Regions from separate parts of the Homo sapiens genome. Here region 2 is linked to region 1. The links are contacts of gene promoters, found by promoter capture Hi-C in human tissues and cell types (Jung and others, 2019). All regions are on one chromosome and are shown on one strand. The core of a region is centred on a gene start or on the middle of the fragment in contact, and the rest is flanking DNA. Distances in the headings are between cores, read along the strand shown.

Evidence for each region. The method cuts DNA at HindIII sites, captures the fragments that hold promoters and counts their contacts. A contact is called where the count stands out against the background at its distance.
Region 2: a contact is called between a fragment that was not itself captured here and the fragment with the promoter of NOL4 in region 1, in 1 of the 25 tissues and cell types used here (mesendoderm cells).

Annotation. Positions count from the first base shown.
Region 1 is chr18:34,223,351-34,230,228 of GRCh38, reverse strand. NOL4 (nucleolar protein 4) reads left to right here and starts at 5,316. Exons shown (of 11, transcript NM_003787.5): 1 at 5,316-6,878. The HindIII fragment of the contact is 4,883 bases long and covers 3,420-6,878 here.
Region 2 is chr18:34,267,488-34,274,815 of GRCh38, reverse strand. LOC124904280 (a long non-coding RNA gene) reads left to right here. Exons shown (of 2, transcript XR_007066331.1): 2 at 4,952-5,388. Among named protein-coding and RNA genes, the nearest start is that of NOL4, 46 kb to the right of the region's middle. The HindIII fragment of the contact is 3,178 bases long and covers 3,929-7,106 here.

The DNA of each region.
Region 1 (6,878 bases), core at 4,067-6,566:
TGTTAAAAGTAGAAATTAAAGAGAAATTTAGAAAATCAACTAGACTATCAAATCTAATGTGTTCTTAATTTGCACACTTAAGTATTTATGGAAATTAAATTTTGGTTAACGCATAATATGTAATGAAATTCTTACAAAACGTAAATATCAGTAAATTTGGGCAAAACAAAAAACATCAAATTTTTAATCTTTTCTTTTGGGTTAGAAAGTGGAATAAAGATACTGATATTACAGTTCACAAATTAAAATATGTGTTTTTCTGTGTCTTAGTAATCACCGCCATAAAGATCAGAAAAATATTTAAACTCTCTCAAAAGTGTTTCTTTTCTTAATTAAAGGATAGCTATTGCATACTAAAGACAGGCTCTTTTCAAAATTATTTGGTAGAAGAGTCAATACATTGGAAGTCAACTAATAAAATCAGATTTGTGACAATTTCTACAAAGTTCCAAATTTCTCTACCTGCATAAACAGGGCATTTCTGCTTTGTTTATTTTGTGTCATTTTGAAAAGTTAATAAATTATGTCATAATCAAGTTGCTGATTGAGTTGGTCATTTGCTTCCTTTACAACTTTCTTTTCCTTGACGGGATTATTAATAGACTTTTAACCCTCTGAATGCATAATAACGTTCAGAACCTCAGCTTTCAAAGTAGCAAGTACCATGCTCCATAATCTCTAATCTAGCTAAAAGGCTCAAATTCTTTTATGAACTTAACTCAGTAGACAAGTCTCTAGTCAACCCCTTCAATGGGAAATGTGATCATAGGACATCCTAAAATTTGATTCCTATTTTAGCGTGCCTCCAGGTCCTGATCTAATCCAGAATAGGTCTAACCAAAGCTTTCACAGCTTCACTTTTAAGTTTTAAATGATTTTAAGTCCATGTAAATTTGGAAATTACTAACAGTTTAGGTCTAGTCAAGGATTCATCCAAACTGCTTTGCTATTTTTCTCAGGTTTTTCCCAATACCAGTATTATATCAATAGAAGCCAACTTCTGCTGCTCAGTACATGACATTCTATTTTAGTCATAAGGTATTAGTATATACAAACTCAATATCAAAAGATGGGGGCTTTCCCTTTTTGTAGGAAATGTGGACAAAGGTGATGTCATTCATTCCTATGGCTTTAAATTCCCTGTATTTATATCTCCAATCCAGACTTTTCTCTGTAGTTCAAGCTTCTATATTCAATTCCTACATGAACAACTCTCCTGGTATTTCAAATTTAACTTCTCTGAAATTAAATTCTTTCTTCCTGCCTCTCCACCCCAACTTGCTTCTGCTCCTCCCTCAGCCTCCAACTCCCAATCTGTTCCTCCCCCAAACATTTCTCTGTAAGTCAATGGCTTCACTAGCCTCACTACTAAAGCCAGAAACCATGTAGTCGTCTTTGATTCAATCGTTTCTCTCATCTGATACATGCAGTCCATCAGTGTATTAGTTCACTAGGGCTGCTATAACAAACTACCATAGGCTGGGTGGCTTATAAACAACAGGAATTTATTTCTCACAGGTCTGGAGGCTGGAAAGTCCAAGATTAAGATGCTGGCAGATGTGATGTCTAGTGAGACTCCTCTTCATAGATGGCCATCTTTTCAGCGTCCTCACATGGAGGAAGTGGCAGAGGAGCTCTGTGAGGCCTCTTTCATGAAGGCACCAATTCCATTCATGACCAGCTCTCCTTTCATTACCTAATCAGCTCCCAAAGGTGCCACTTCCTAATACCATCACCTTGGGGGTTAGGATTTCAACATATGGATTGTGGGGTGGGGGCAGGGGGGTGGAGGAGATACACATTCAGGAAGCTCTATTCTTTCTTTAAACTGTATCTTCAACCCATCACTTCTCTCCCTCTACCTCCTCTGTTAATACTCTAATCTATCGCCGTAATAGTTCATCTAAGCTACTACTTCAACTATCACCATTTTTTCTAGCTGGTCTTCCTGCTTTCATGCTTGTCCCTTTCCAATCCTTTCTCCTCAAAGTGGCCAGTGACACTAATAAAAATGCATATCATATCATATAATTCTCCTGCCTGAGATATCTTACTGGTTTTCCACTGGACCAATAAAATATAAGCACTTATCAATAAAATGTAAGCAATGCCCTACAAGATCTGGCTGCAGAAGTCTACTCAGATCTCACGTTCTACCTTTCTCTTTCAAGCTCCAGTTGCCTTGGCCTTCTTTCTATTCCTCAAACATGCCAAGAGTTCTTTTACGTTAGGACCTTTGCGCTTTGCCTATAGTTCACCTTCCTGGCTTCACATAATTGACTCCTTTGAATCTTCAGGTCTCATGATAAATGTTACCTACTCAGAAAGATCTTCCCTAAGCTCATCAAGTCTCTCTACCTTGTCACTGTTTTCTCTTATGCTGCTATTTTTCCCCCTCCCAGCACTTACATAAAGCTCTAATTATTTATTTCTTGCTTTGTTGTCTGCTGTCCTTAGAAGAATTTATGTTCCATGAGATGGGAACCATGCATATACATCTGTCTTGCTGAGGACGTTAACCCTAGAACCTGTGAGAGTAACTGAAGCTTGGTTAATATTTGTTTAATAAAAACCACAATTATTTGAAGGAATGAAAGCTTGTTTATTCTTTGAACATGGATTTTCTGATTACAGATTCTATGTTGTTTGTACTCTAACATTTTGCTGATGAACACATAGTGTTGTGTAAATATTTGTGATTGATAATAAAGTGCAAGATTTTCTGGATTTTTAAAATGTCATTTACAAACTGACCATGAAGTTGGAAGAAATTTTACTTCTATAACAAAAATCATATTGATGATAGCCCACGTTTTGGATTATTTTAAATTAAAATATAAGTTTCACATACCTTTTTGCCTTCCTCTTCCTCTCTTTTCTTCCTCTGCCTGCCAGGCAGACAGGACCCCTGGGCCCAGATTGGGGATTGGCATTCAGAAGGGGTGAAGAAAAACATTTCGGAGAGATATGCTTTGTAGCCAGGCAATTCTGAGGAAAGTGTCCTGGGAACATACCAGGTTAAATCCCAGGCAGCCTGTTCACATGAACCATATAGCTGAGGAAGCAGCTCAGGATGACCCTGAGATGGGGCTGGTCAGACCTGACTCTAGAGAAGTTCAAAGAAGGAAAATTAGTCCAGAGTAAGTTGCTGAAGCAGATTTTAGATTTTTGTTAGGTGCCTACCTTCCTAGGTGGACAAGATATGGTTGAAGGTGTTGGCTCAGCCAGCACAACTAATAATGGGTGCAAGTACAGAGCATATTACACTTTGGGTTCCACTGAAAACAAGAGAATCTGCAGGGCTCTGAGACTTAGGACCCTTGAAATCTTTGAACCCTGTATTCCTTTCCTCCAATGCAAACAGTCTTTCAGTAGTTAATCATTTACCTTTTCTTCTTAAAAAGAATGTATTTCATATAATCTATTTCATTTTGTGGGGTTTTTGTGCTTGTATATCAAATCTAGTGAATACAAGTGGGGGTTGATGACATATTTATCTTCTGGGAGTTCTGTATGTCTAGGGTGTTCTAGTTGCTATGCATTAGGGTGTCAAGTATAGTTATAAATACAATGAACACATGTGTGTGTGGTAAAGCCCTGTCATTTCCTTAAGACGGGGGACCAACTTCAACCAAACACTACCCAGCAAAAGCCAACAAGAATGGACAAAGATTATGCCTACCTTCTTCCTTCCTTCCCTTACTCTTGTTCTCCTTCTTTCATTAATTTATTAACTCAATTTATTAAGCACTTACTGTGCACATTGTTCATTGCACAAAACAAGAAAAAAGACATAAACTTTCAAGGGTTTTCCAATTAAGATTTTATTTGACCAACAAAACATACTCATATGAAAATATAAATAAGGTAAAAGGAGCAGTGTAGTCATTATGATCTAAAACAATATTTTTCAAATTGTAGGTTGCCAGTCATTCTTTGCTGGGTCATAAAATAAATTTTTTTGGTTGGGACTATACTTTACCAAATAATAATAACAAAATCAACAGGAGAGAAAAAGGCAAATATCAGTGTATATTGCAGGTAATAAAATAGATGTTTTCATAAAATTTTTGCAGAACAAATGTATGTATGCACTACATGTCAATGTAAAGTGTATGGCTTACTACAAGACAGGGCTAAAAAATGTTTGAAAGACACAATACAGATGATTATAGAAGAAAGTTAATATTAAGTTGAATGATTAAGGAAGGTTTTTGGAGGCTGAAAGTACATAAATAAAGCTTAGAGGGGATGGGATGCCTTTTTAGATGAAAAGCTGCATAAAATAGTTCTATAATTGTGAACTATAACCATATGAGAAAGTGAATTCTATAGAACCAGCTTATTCTTGAATGACTACCCCAGGACCAATTATCTTTCCAGAAACTTCCAGGAAACACATGACCAATATCTAACTAAATTGAGCTCTGATGCCACAAAGGGAAACTTAACAGAGTTGCTCCTGTGAAGTATACCCCACTAGAAGGGTGGTTCAGGATATCTTCTGTCCAATTGCGTGTTTCAAATATTTATGTATTTAAGATATTAAGATTTTTTTAATGTGAAATATCTAAAGATTCACCTCAATAAATTGAAAGTGATATTTTTCCCCTGAGTCCCTTGTATTAGATTCACTTGTGACTTCATTGGACAGTGTCTTCTCTGAGCTCTATGGTCTAATACGTATTGAACAAAAATTCAAGGACTCAACAACTGATTTATTTTAGCATTTCTTTTTAATACAAAAGAAGGAAATAAAAGAATAAAAGCAGTCGGGGTGGCCTCTGGAGAAGGGGAGCTGTTGTTGCAGGAATCTTGCAAGTTAATGAGAATTCACCCGGGACTCAAGAGGGATGGAGAGAGGGGGAGAAAGGAGATGGGGGAATGGGGTGGGGGGATAAAAACTCTTCCTTTGCAGCTGGCCCTTTCCCTCATTTGTTGCTCCAATAAGCAGTAATTAGGTCCTGAGCTAATGGTGTCAGCTGATCTGCTGTTTTTAGGCTAGACCCAGAGGAATCTCCATGGAAACCCTGCTGGAGTCGTCCCCCCACCTGGATGCTGCGTGCTCCTTTCTGCCACCTGGCTGCCGCCGGGCCCGCTGCTACCTCCTTCTGCCTCTAACCTGCAGCCTGCAGCATGCGCACTGCCCCCGGGATCCCTAAATGGGACAATTCTGCCCGTGACGTCAGCGCCCAGCCGTCTCCACAGAAACTTTTGTCCCATTGGCCAATCAGAGAGCTTGGAAGGGGCCGGGGAGGGTGGGGGAAGGAGAGGGGAGTGGGAGGGGTGGGGGTGAGGGGAGAGGCGAGAGGTTTAGCGTGTGGAGCTGCCTGCGCTCCGCCCGGGCTGTCAGTCCCGGCTCCAGCCGCCGCGAGACCTTCCCGGAGACGCGCGCACACACAGCGCACCCCCTGCACACCGCACACCCTCGCTCCCTTGCTCACACACACGCACACACTCAGCCTGGCCGAGCAGGAGCCACTGACCATTTTGCAAGTGTCAGGACCAGCTACAGCGCGGTGGGCGCAAACATCCCGCTTTCCCTTTCCGGGATTTAGTCTGGGAGACGACGACGAGGGAAGAAGGTGGGCTCGGACGCAGCCCAGGCGCCGGGCACTGGTCGGGCCGTTTTCCTGGCAGAGCCGCTCCCCGGGACGGGCGCGGGCCTCGGGTGAGAGTAGAATAAAGAGGAGCGGCCGCAGCCGCCGCGCGAGGAGGATGGGAACTCCCCTATTTCCAGCTCTGGAAACAAATGGATGGAAGTCCTGAATGGAGCAACTGCTGACTTCATCTGCTTGGAAAAATAGTCCAGAGGAACTCATATTTGGCTACTCAGAGCAGTGGAGGGGGTGTCCATGACGTGGCAGGGGGAAAATAGACAACTGAAACCTCCCGTGTGAACTGCAAACTGTGACCAAGCAAGGGGAAAATGATCTTTCTGTATATATTTTAATTTCGTGCAAAGGTTTTCAAGCATCTGTATCCTAAACTTACTTCTATGTCTTGTTCAGCAGAAACCAGAGGAGTCCTGTCTGGGGGTCCCATCATTATTCGGGATACCCGCCGCCAGCGGCCTGCCTTCGGTTACCCACATCCCCCTGGAACGGATATCTGTTTGGGGCACTACAATCTATCCTGTAGAACTATGGCCAAATCTCCATCAATGCTTTGCTAATTTCTGGGACTTAACTCGTAGAATCTACATACAGGGCTGGAATTTATTCAAAATGCATCTGAAGAAATGACATTTTAAACCGTTTTAAAAAATATCTTGATAAAAAATTCTGTAAAACAGAATTTGATAGGTTTAAAAACATGACAGGTAAGAACTTTCTCTTTCTAGTCCCTTAACACCCGTCGTGGGGAAGGTCAAAGCAGGACCCAGGAGGAAGGAGAGATCCGGGACCCGTGTGCCCTTCGGGGCTCAAAGGCGCTGGGCGGGCGGCTGCTTTCGGGAGAGGCGCAGCCCTCACTCCTGGACCACGGGGCCAGTGGCTGGGGAAGCTTCTGGGGCGCGCGCGGGGAGGCGGCGCTGCGCTCCACCTGCCCAGCCCCGGACGCAGCCCGGGGGCGAGGCGTCTAGGGACCACCCCAATTCAATATTGGGATTTTTAATAAACCAAGGAATGGGATTTTAATTATTGAAAACCCAGCTCCTCTGGGCCAGAATGGTGTTGGGATGGTCCTGGTCACAAAATATTAAAGAGACCGACCGCTAAGGGAACAGGAAAAACGTCCGAGACAGCCGTTGCAATTACGAATGGACCAGACTTGGTAGCACGGGGCATTGATTGCTGGTGCCCAACCGGACCCTCCTCCCCTCTTCCCATCCCTTCCCCCACCCAAAGCAGGCTCCCGCTGCGGCCGGGACCTCGCAT
Region 2 (7,328 bases), core at 4,268-6,767, 44 kb before region 1:
AAAACAGTAGTTAAGATACATAATATAGTATAATCATTTAAATGAAAAATTTAGAATCATTAATATAAACAAACGTGGGACATACTGGTAATTGCAGAGCTAATATACACTGTCAATATGTTTGCTGTAGATAGGCCAATATTTTGTAGATATGTACATCTGTTTGACTATTCATCCACATATTTGTCTCCTTATTGCTTTATTCATGCTGCTTTTCCTGTATCTATGCAATGAGTTTTAAAGAAAACAATAAAAAGTATCCAACTTTTTTAGCCTTCCAGGTAAAGAAAAAGATAATGGCTCTAAAACTCTTTAACCCAATATTCAAGTTACAACAGGGTTTATTACTTTTCTGTGCTGTGGACCCCATGGTAGTCCAGAGAAACCTACGGACCCTTTCGCAAAATAATATGTTTAAATATGCAAAAAATAAACACACAAGATTATACAGGAAACTAAGTATAGTAAAACATATTTGTTAGAATAACAAAAAAACAAAAATTTCTTACATATTTCACATTTATAGCACGTGCTCTTTTTCTTGATTAGTTTTACCAGAGGACAGTCAGATTATTGGCCTTTTCCAAGAACTACTATTCAGAAGAAAGTATTACTATTTTTGTTTTCCATTAACTTCAGAGCTGTCTTTATTTCCTCATTTCTTGTGTCTTTAGCTTTACTCTGGATTTATTCTGTTTTTCTTTTTTCTACACTCTTAAATTGGAATATTACCTCGTTAAGTTCCAGCTTTTCTTCAAGTATAAGAATGTTAAATCCATTAGCATTTCTCTAAGTAATGCTTTATTGCATTTCATACTTTTTGGTACATAGTAATTTTATGATCACTGTTTCAATGTATTTTCTATTTTTTTAAGATTTCTTTTATGATCTGAATTATTTAATAGCATATTTTAAAATTTTCAAATGTGTGAGTGATTAAAGTTAGTTTTCATAATTGATTTCTAGCTTAAATGTAGTCAGAAAAGATATATCTAGCTGTTATGGTAATGAGGTTTTAGAATTTACAGATGCTAGTTTTATGGTTCATTAAATGAGTAAATTTTGCTCTGAGTACTTGAAAAGTACATATACTTTCAATTTTGGGAGTGTATTTTTTCTATAGAACATGCTTGTGAATTGTGATATTTGAATCTTATACATCCTCAAATTTTTTGGTCTGATTTATCTATATCAATTACAGAGGAAGTTATATTAAAATCTGCTATAATAGTGAATTTGTCAATTTTGCCATATAGTTTTGTCCTTTTGCTTTAGATATTCAAAAGATACATTATTGGATGAAGTTTAGAATTTTACATATTACTAGTGAATTGGGCCTTTTATCAATATACACAGCTTTTCTGATACTTTAATTCAAATAATGTAGCCTAATTGTGATGCAGTTTTTTTATCTAGAATTTAATTTTAATTTTTCCTTGAACCTTGAGGGCAATTTTTTATTTAAATTTGGCACCTTTGATAGCTGTGTCCTCTTGCATCTCGGGCCTTCCTTCTGAAACCATCTCTTGTATTTCTAAAGTATATTCACTCACTGTTCTCTTATAAGATTTTGTGTTTGTTTTTGTGGCGATGTAATCTCTATTTCATCTTCATTTTCGTTGTTGTTTGCTAAAAACGTCTGTATATCCCTCTCATTCCTGAATGATAGTTTTGGGAAGACATAACATTCTGGTTGGCATCTATTTTCTCTTCTTTGAAGATATACATTCAGCTGTCTTCTGGCTTCTATTTTTGCTTTTGAGAATTCAGCTGTTTTGTTGTTCCTTCATAAAAAATGTCTTTTCTCTCAGACTGCTTTTAAAGTCTTCACTTTCTCTTTATTGATCTTCAGTGCCACTGTAGTTCCTATAGTACATCTACGCGTATGTTTCTCTTTAGTAATCCTGCTGAAAATCTATTGGACTTTCTGAGCCTCAGAATTGGTGTCTTTATCATTTCTGGAAAATTCTCAGCCATTATCATTTTGAATATTGCCTTTTATCCATTCTCCCTATTCCCCTCTCAGGAACTATGAATAGACATATAGTGACTTTTTAACTTTATCCTCAATATCTCTTAACTTCTATTTCATATTTTCATTTCTTTACGACTTTGGGCTACATTTTGGGTGACTTTTTAAGCTCAATATTCTCTTACATAAATTCTCTCTTTACCCAGTGGCCAAGAGTTTGCTTTTTGTTTTTGTTCTTGTTTTTGAGACAGAGTTTCACTCTGTTGCCCAGGCTGGGGTGCAGTGGCGCGATCTCAGCTCACTGCAGCCTCTTCCTCCTGGGTTCAAGCGATTCTCCTGCCTCAGCCTCCCAAGTAGCTGGGATTTCCGCCACCATGCCCAGCTAATTTTTATATTTTTAGTAGAGACAAGGTTTTGCCATGTTGGCCAGGCTGGTCTCAAATTCCTGACCTCAAGTATCTGCCCGCCTTGGCCTCCCACAGTGCTGCGATTACAGGCTGAGCCACATGCCCGGCCCCTAGAGTTTGCTTTTTAACCCATCTATTGAGCTACTCATTTTAATGATTGTAAAAATTCTATTTAGAAATTTTGAAACATCTCTCTGGTTATTTTTGATAATCTCTTGTTCTGTATTACATATTTACCTGTATTTTTTTTTCTTTAAGCCTTTTGTTTTAATATTCCTGACTTGATAATACCAATATTTGTATCTTTGGGGTAGTATTCTGTAGGTTTTAAAATATTTCCTCCTGCTAATTCAGTTTTTCTATCTTTCTCTGATGGTAGTTATTTTGCTAATGTGAAAATGTTATGAAGTTGAGATATAAAACCCATTTCTTCAGAGAAGAATTTTTCTGTTTTCTATAGTTGAGTGTGCGGTAGGATTACTTAGTGTTTGACTTACAGAATTTGTTGGCCAGAAAGGTAGTACTACTTAATTTATTTCTCAATCTCAAGTAAAGGCACACTCATGTTTGGAAAATTTCAGGGGAAAATTTTCTTTTTCTTTCTAGTTCTACATAGATTCATGGCCAAACTAGGCAAATATTCTACCATGTCCTTCTGCTTTTTTCTTTCTTTTTCTTTTTTTAATCTTCCTAATTCAACCACACAGTGCATTGCCTTTCAGGATCTCAGGTTCTGTGTGGTGGTTTCTGTTTTTATCTTTCTTTTTTGAGTGCTCCATAAACAGTAATTTTGATTGTTCTCCATGTCTGTGGCTCATTAAAGGCCAAAATGCTACACCACCATAAGTGTTTTCTTACCTCTTTAGATGCCTCCAAAAGCTTCTATTTTCCTGCCAACTCAACCATGAATTTAAAAATTATTTTAAAAATATTTTATCTAATGAGCACACCTAATGTCCAGATTGTGGTTTCTAAATACTATTTTTGAGAAATGGCTGCTGTAGGACTGGCTCATGGAGAGTACACAGTGAACCTGATACATCCTGTTATGCCAGAAAACAAGCAAACTCTGTATGAATGGAGACATGCACACAAACCGAGAACCAGTTTTGGAATAATTTGAGCATCAAAAAGGATAATGAACAGAACTGACTATAACCATTAAATACATAAAAATCTATGACACCACCATGGTGTCAGACAGTAAGATACCTGCTGCAATGAGGAGATTATTATACTAACTCTTTATTTTTAAAATTAGTAATTAGCGGAAAAGTTAATCGTTTGTTATCACGCTTGCAGGAAGTACATTTCAGACGATGGTATGAGATAAAGCTCTTTAAAAACAATCAAACAAACAAATACCAGAAGTTTACTAATGCCGGTTTAGAGAAGAGAGGGAATGAGGGAATTAGAAAATGATTATTTTTTAACACTGAGTAAAATAGTTCAGAAAAGGACTTAGAGGCTAAAGTCATTAAAGAAAATGTTTTGGAGAAACAGGATATTTACTAAAAGCAAAGCATCACAACAAAATCACTTGCTACTTGCATAAAGGGGGAAAATATTCACCTTTAAATTGTAAAGATTTGGCAGTCACCATCTTGACCATGGGATGAAAAGCAGTCTCTCTAACAGTGGACTGCTTGACATCATGTTTCCTGATGAAATGGGGCAGGGCGTGAAACTTATTCTTGCCCAGTGTGCTACACCTGGATAAGATCAAGCCTCTCTCTTTAACTTCCTGTGTTGTAGGACATACACAGGGTTAGAAAAATGACACCATGAGGGAAAGAACACATCTAGACTGTGGAACCTTGTACAATTACACTGCCTGAGTCTCTTCAAAATGTCAAATGCACAAGAAAAAGAGAAGTGGGCAGTGTGAATTTTGATTGAGTCAAAGTTCTAAAAAAAAGGCTAAAAGTATATTTTGGAGAAAATTGAGAAAATTTGAGAATGGACTGGCTCTTAAATAATATTGTAGAATTACAGATTGAGTATTTCTTATCCAAAATGCTTCGGATCAGACGTGTTTCAGAGTTGAGAATTTTTTTTCCAGATTTTAGAATATTTGCATATACATAATGAGACAACTTAGGGGTAGGACCCAAGTCTAAACACAAGTTTCATTTATCTTTCATTACACCTTTTATTATACACATACCCTGAAGGTAATTTTATACAATATTTTATATAATATTGTGCATTAAATAAAGCTTTTGTACATAGAACCATCAGGAAGCAAAGGTGTCACTATCTCAGCCACGCATGTTGACAATCTGTGGTTGGTTGGCAACACTGCCTCTCCTGACTCGATTTGTATGCTATAAGCAATAATTTTCTCACACTTATTCTCACATAAGTACTTAACAATTAAATGTATGACATACAATTAATACAGTGAAAAAATAATGTGTCCAGGGTAACTAAGCAGCCCAATGGCATTACTAAAATACCTGTTTCAGCTGCTAAACAACAACAACAATGAACAATGCCAGGCTTTCTGTCTCCACTTACAATGCTGTGTTTTGGCTAAAAGGTTACTATACACTCTATTTTATTTTCTCAGGTGAGAAGAAACATCAGAAGCAGTTGAGAGACTGAGAAGTGGGTTCTCTACTGATGAAAAGGCATTCTTCTGGATGGCTGTTAAAAAATGTTTCCTAGAGTCATGTGCCTCATTAACAACAGTTGTCGCCTTAGAAGTCTCTCTTTGATTTGTTGATTGTATAAGCTGACACAATTTCTTGTTATGAATGCATGCTGTTCTAGTCCTTCAATAAGCCCATTATATATTTTCACCATGTCATCTATAGGCACTTTTTTCTACAGTGTTAACAATGCCAGCTTCATTGTCACTATTGATCAAAATCACCTTGGTTCAGAATTATTTTGGCTATCTCACCATCAGTCAAGGAATGAACAACTGAAGCCTCATTACTGATGTTAAAAACTTCAATATCTACTTTTTCTAGCTCACTGATTAAAGTCATATTTTTGAAAATATAAGGATTTCAGGCATCATTTTTTCTCATATGACATACAATATCCTTCAAAGTCACCACCTTGTTCATCATGATAACTGAACATAGTTGCAGGCCAGAGGTTGTGTCAGGCATCCAGAACTGTGTCTCTAGTCACTGTGTTCCAAGCATTGGCAACAATATATATATAGCATCCTTCATCCTAAACTCCTTTTGGAAACCTACGCCCATGCCTCTGTTCACTGCTGCTAGGCATGCTGTTCATGAAAATGTTTTTACATTTACTCTTCATTGATCTAAGGATATTCTGGTTACATCACTGAATTAATAAAGTTACATTTTGTGGAAGAGCACAACATAACCATCATTTGTGATGAGAATTTCAGCTGAAGGATGAACAGAACAGTTTTCAAGGAGTAACAATATCTTGCAGTAATCATCCAGTCCAGATTCCCTGCAGTTAGCATGAGCCACTGGTACACAACGTTTGTGAAACCCATCATAAAAGATTTCCCTAGTGATCCATACATTTTTCTTAGCATAATAATGGACTGGCAAGAAATTCATTTCTTGAAAGCAGTGAGGATGCAAGGTTATGTCTATCACAGCAAATTTTCACTTAAGTGTGTCTGCCATATTAGCACATCCCAGCATGGTTATTCTGTCCTCGACATCCTTCATTCTTGTAGGAGCTGTCTCATCAGCTCTACTCAATGTCTTTCTAGGGCAACAATGCCAAAATAGTCATATTTCATCAGAATTATCGATTTGTTCTGGTGTTTTATTTTCATCAGCAATGACCTTAGCTAACTCATCAATGAATTTCTCCACAGTTTCATGATCAGCAGATGCTCTGTCACCAAAAATCTTTGAAAAAATTAATGTTATGTCTTTTTTAAAATTTCTTCATGCAGCCTGTTGGATATTTACAATTCCCTTCAGTCTTCAGTTCATGGTGATAGATTTTTGTTGCTTCATGTCTAGCATACGATTAAGGTACATGTATTAACTGTGATGCTGATGGATCCACTCTTTGAATACACAATTGAGATCTTCATTTTTAGGTTTATGTGGTTTAAAAAATTGTTTTTTCATTAACTTCTCTTCATCAATTTCAGCATAGAACTTTAGCAGTTTATTCTTCTGTTTCTTCATGTCACACATGGTGGTCATTCCAACACCATACTCTTCTGAGATGTTTCACACTTATGCCACTGTCCAGATTCTCCAACAGCTTGACTTTCTGTGCTATAGATAAACATAAATGCCGCCTCTTTTTGTTATCACAGTAGTATCTGCAGGCCTTTTTAACATCTCAACAATACTCTTATACTACAGAATAGAGAATAAACAACAAAACAAAACAACACAAAACACAACACAACACAAAACAAAAAACAACACAACACACACAAAACAGTGAGTAATACATTAGGTCTTGGTCCTATGTGGGGCATTGGGGAACCTGCTGTTGGTATGACCAGCCTGCAAACATGCTGTTTTGTTACCGTTTGTGCATGTGTTCCCTGGGGGAATCTCACAGCTAAAGGAAGCTGAGACGGTCTTTTATCCCTTGGAGGCACTAAACAAACTGTGTTGTGCATCTATATTTTGTGACTCATCACATAAAGTCAGGTGTAAAATTTTCCACTTTTGGTGTCATGTCAGTATTCAAGGAGTTTTGGATTTTGGAGCACTTCAGATTTCAGATTTTAGATTAGGGATGCTTAATCTATATGGTAATTTTAAATATATGATGATGTTTGCATTAGTCAGAGTTTTCCAGAGAAACATAATGAAGAGGATGTGTAGATAGATAGATACATATCTATACAGATATATCTCTATGTGTATCTATAAATAGATGTATATATATGTATACATATACATGTACACACACAGAGATTTATTGTTGGGACTTGGCTTTTATGATTATTATATTAGTCCGTTTCATACTGCTGA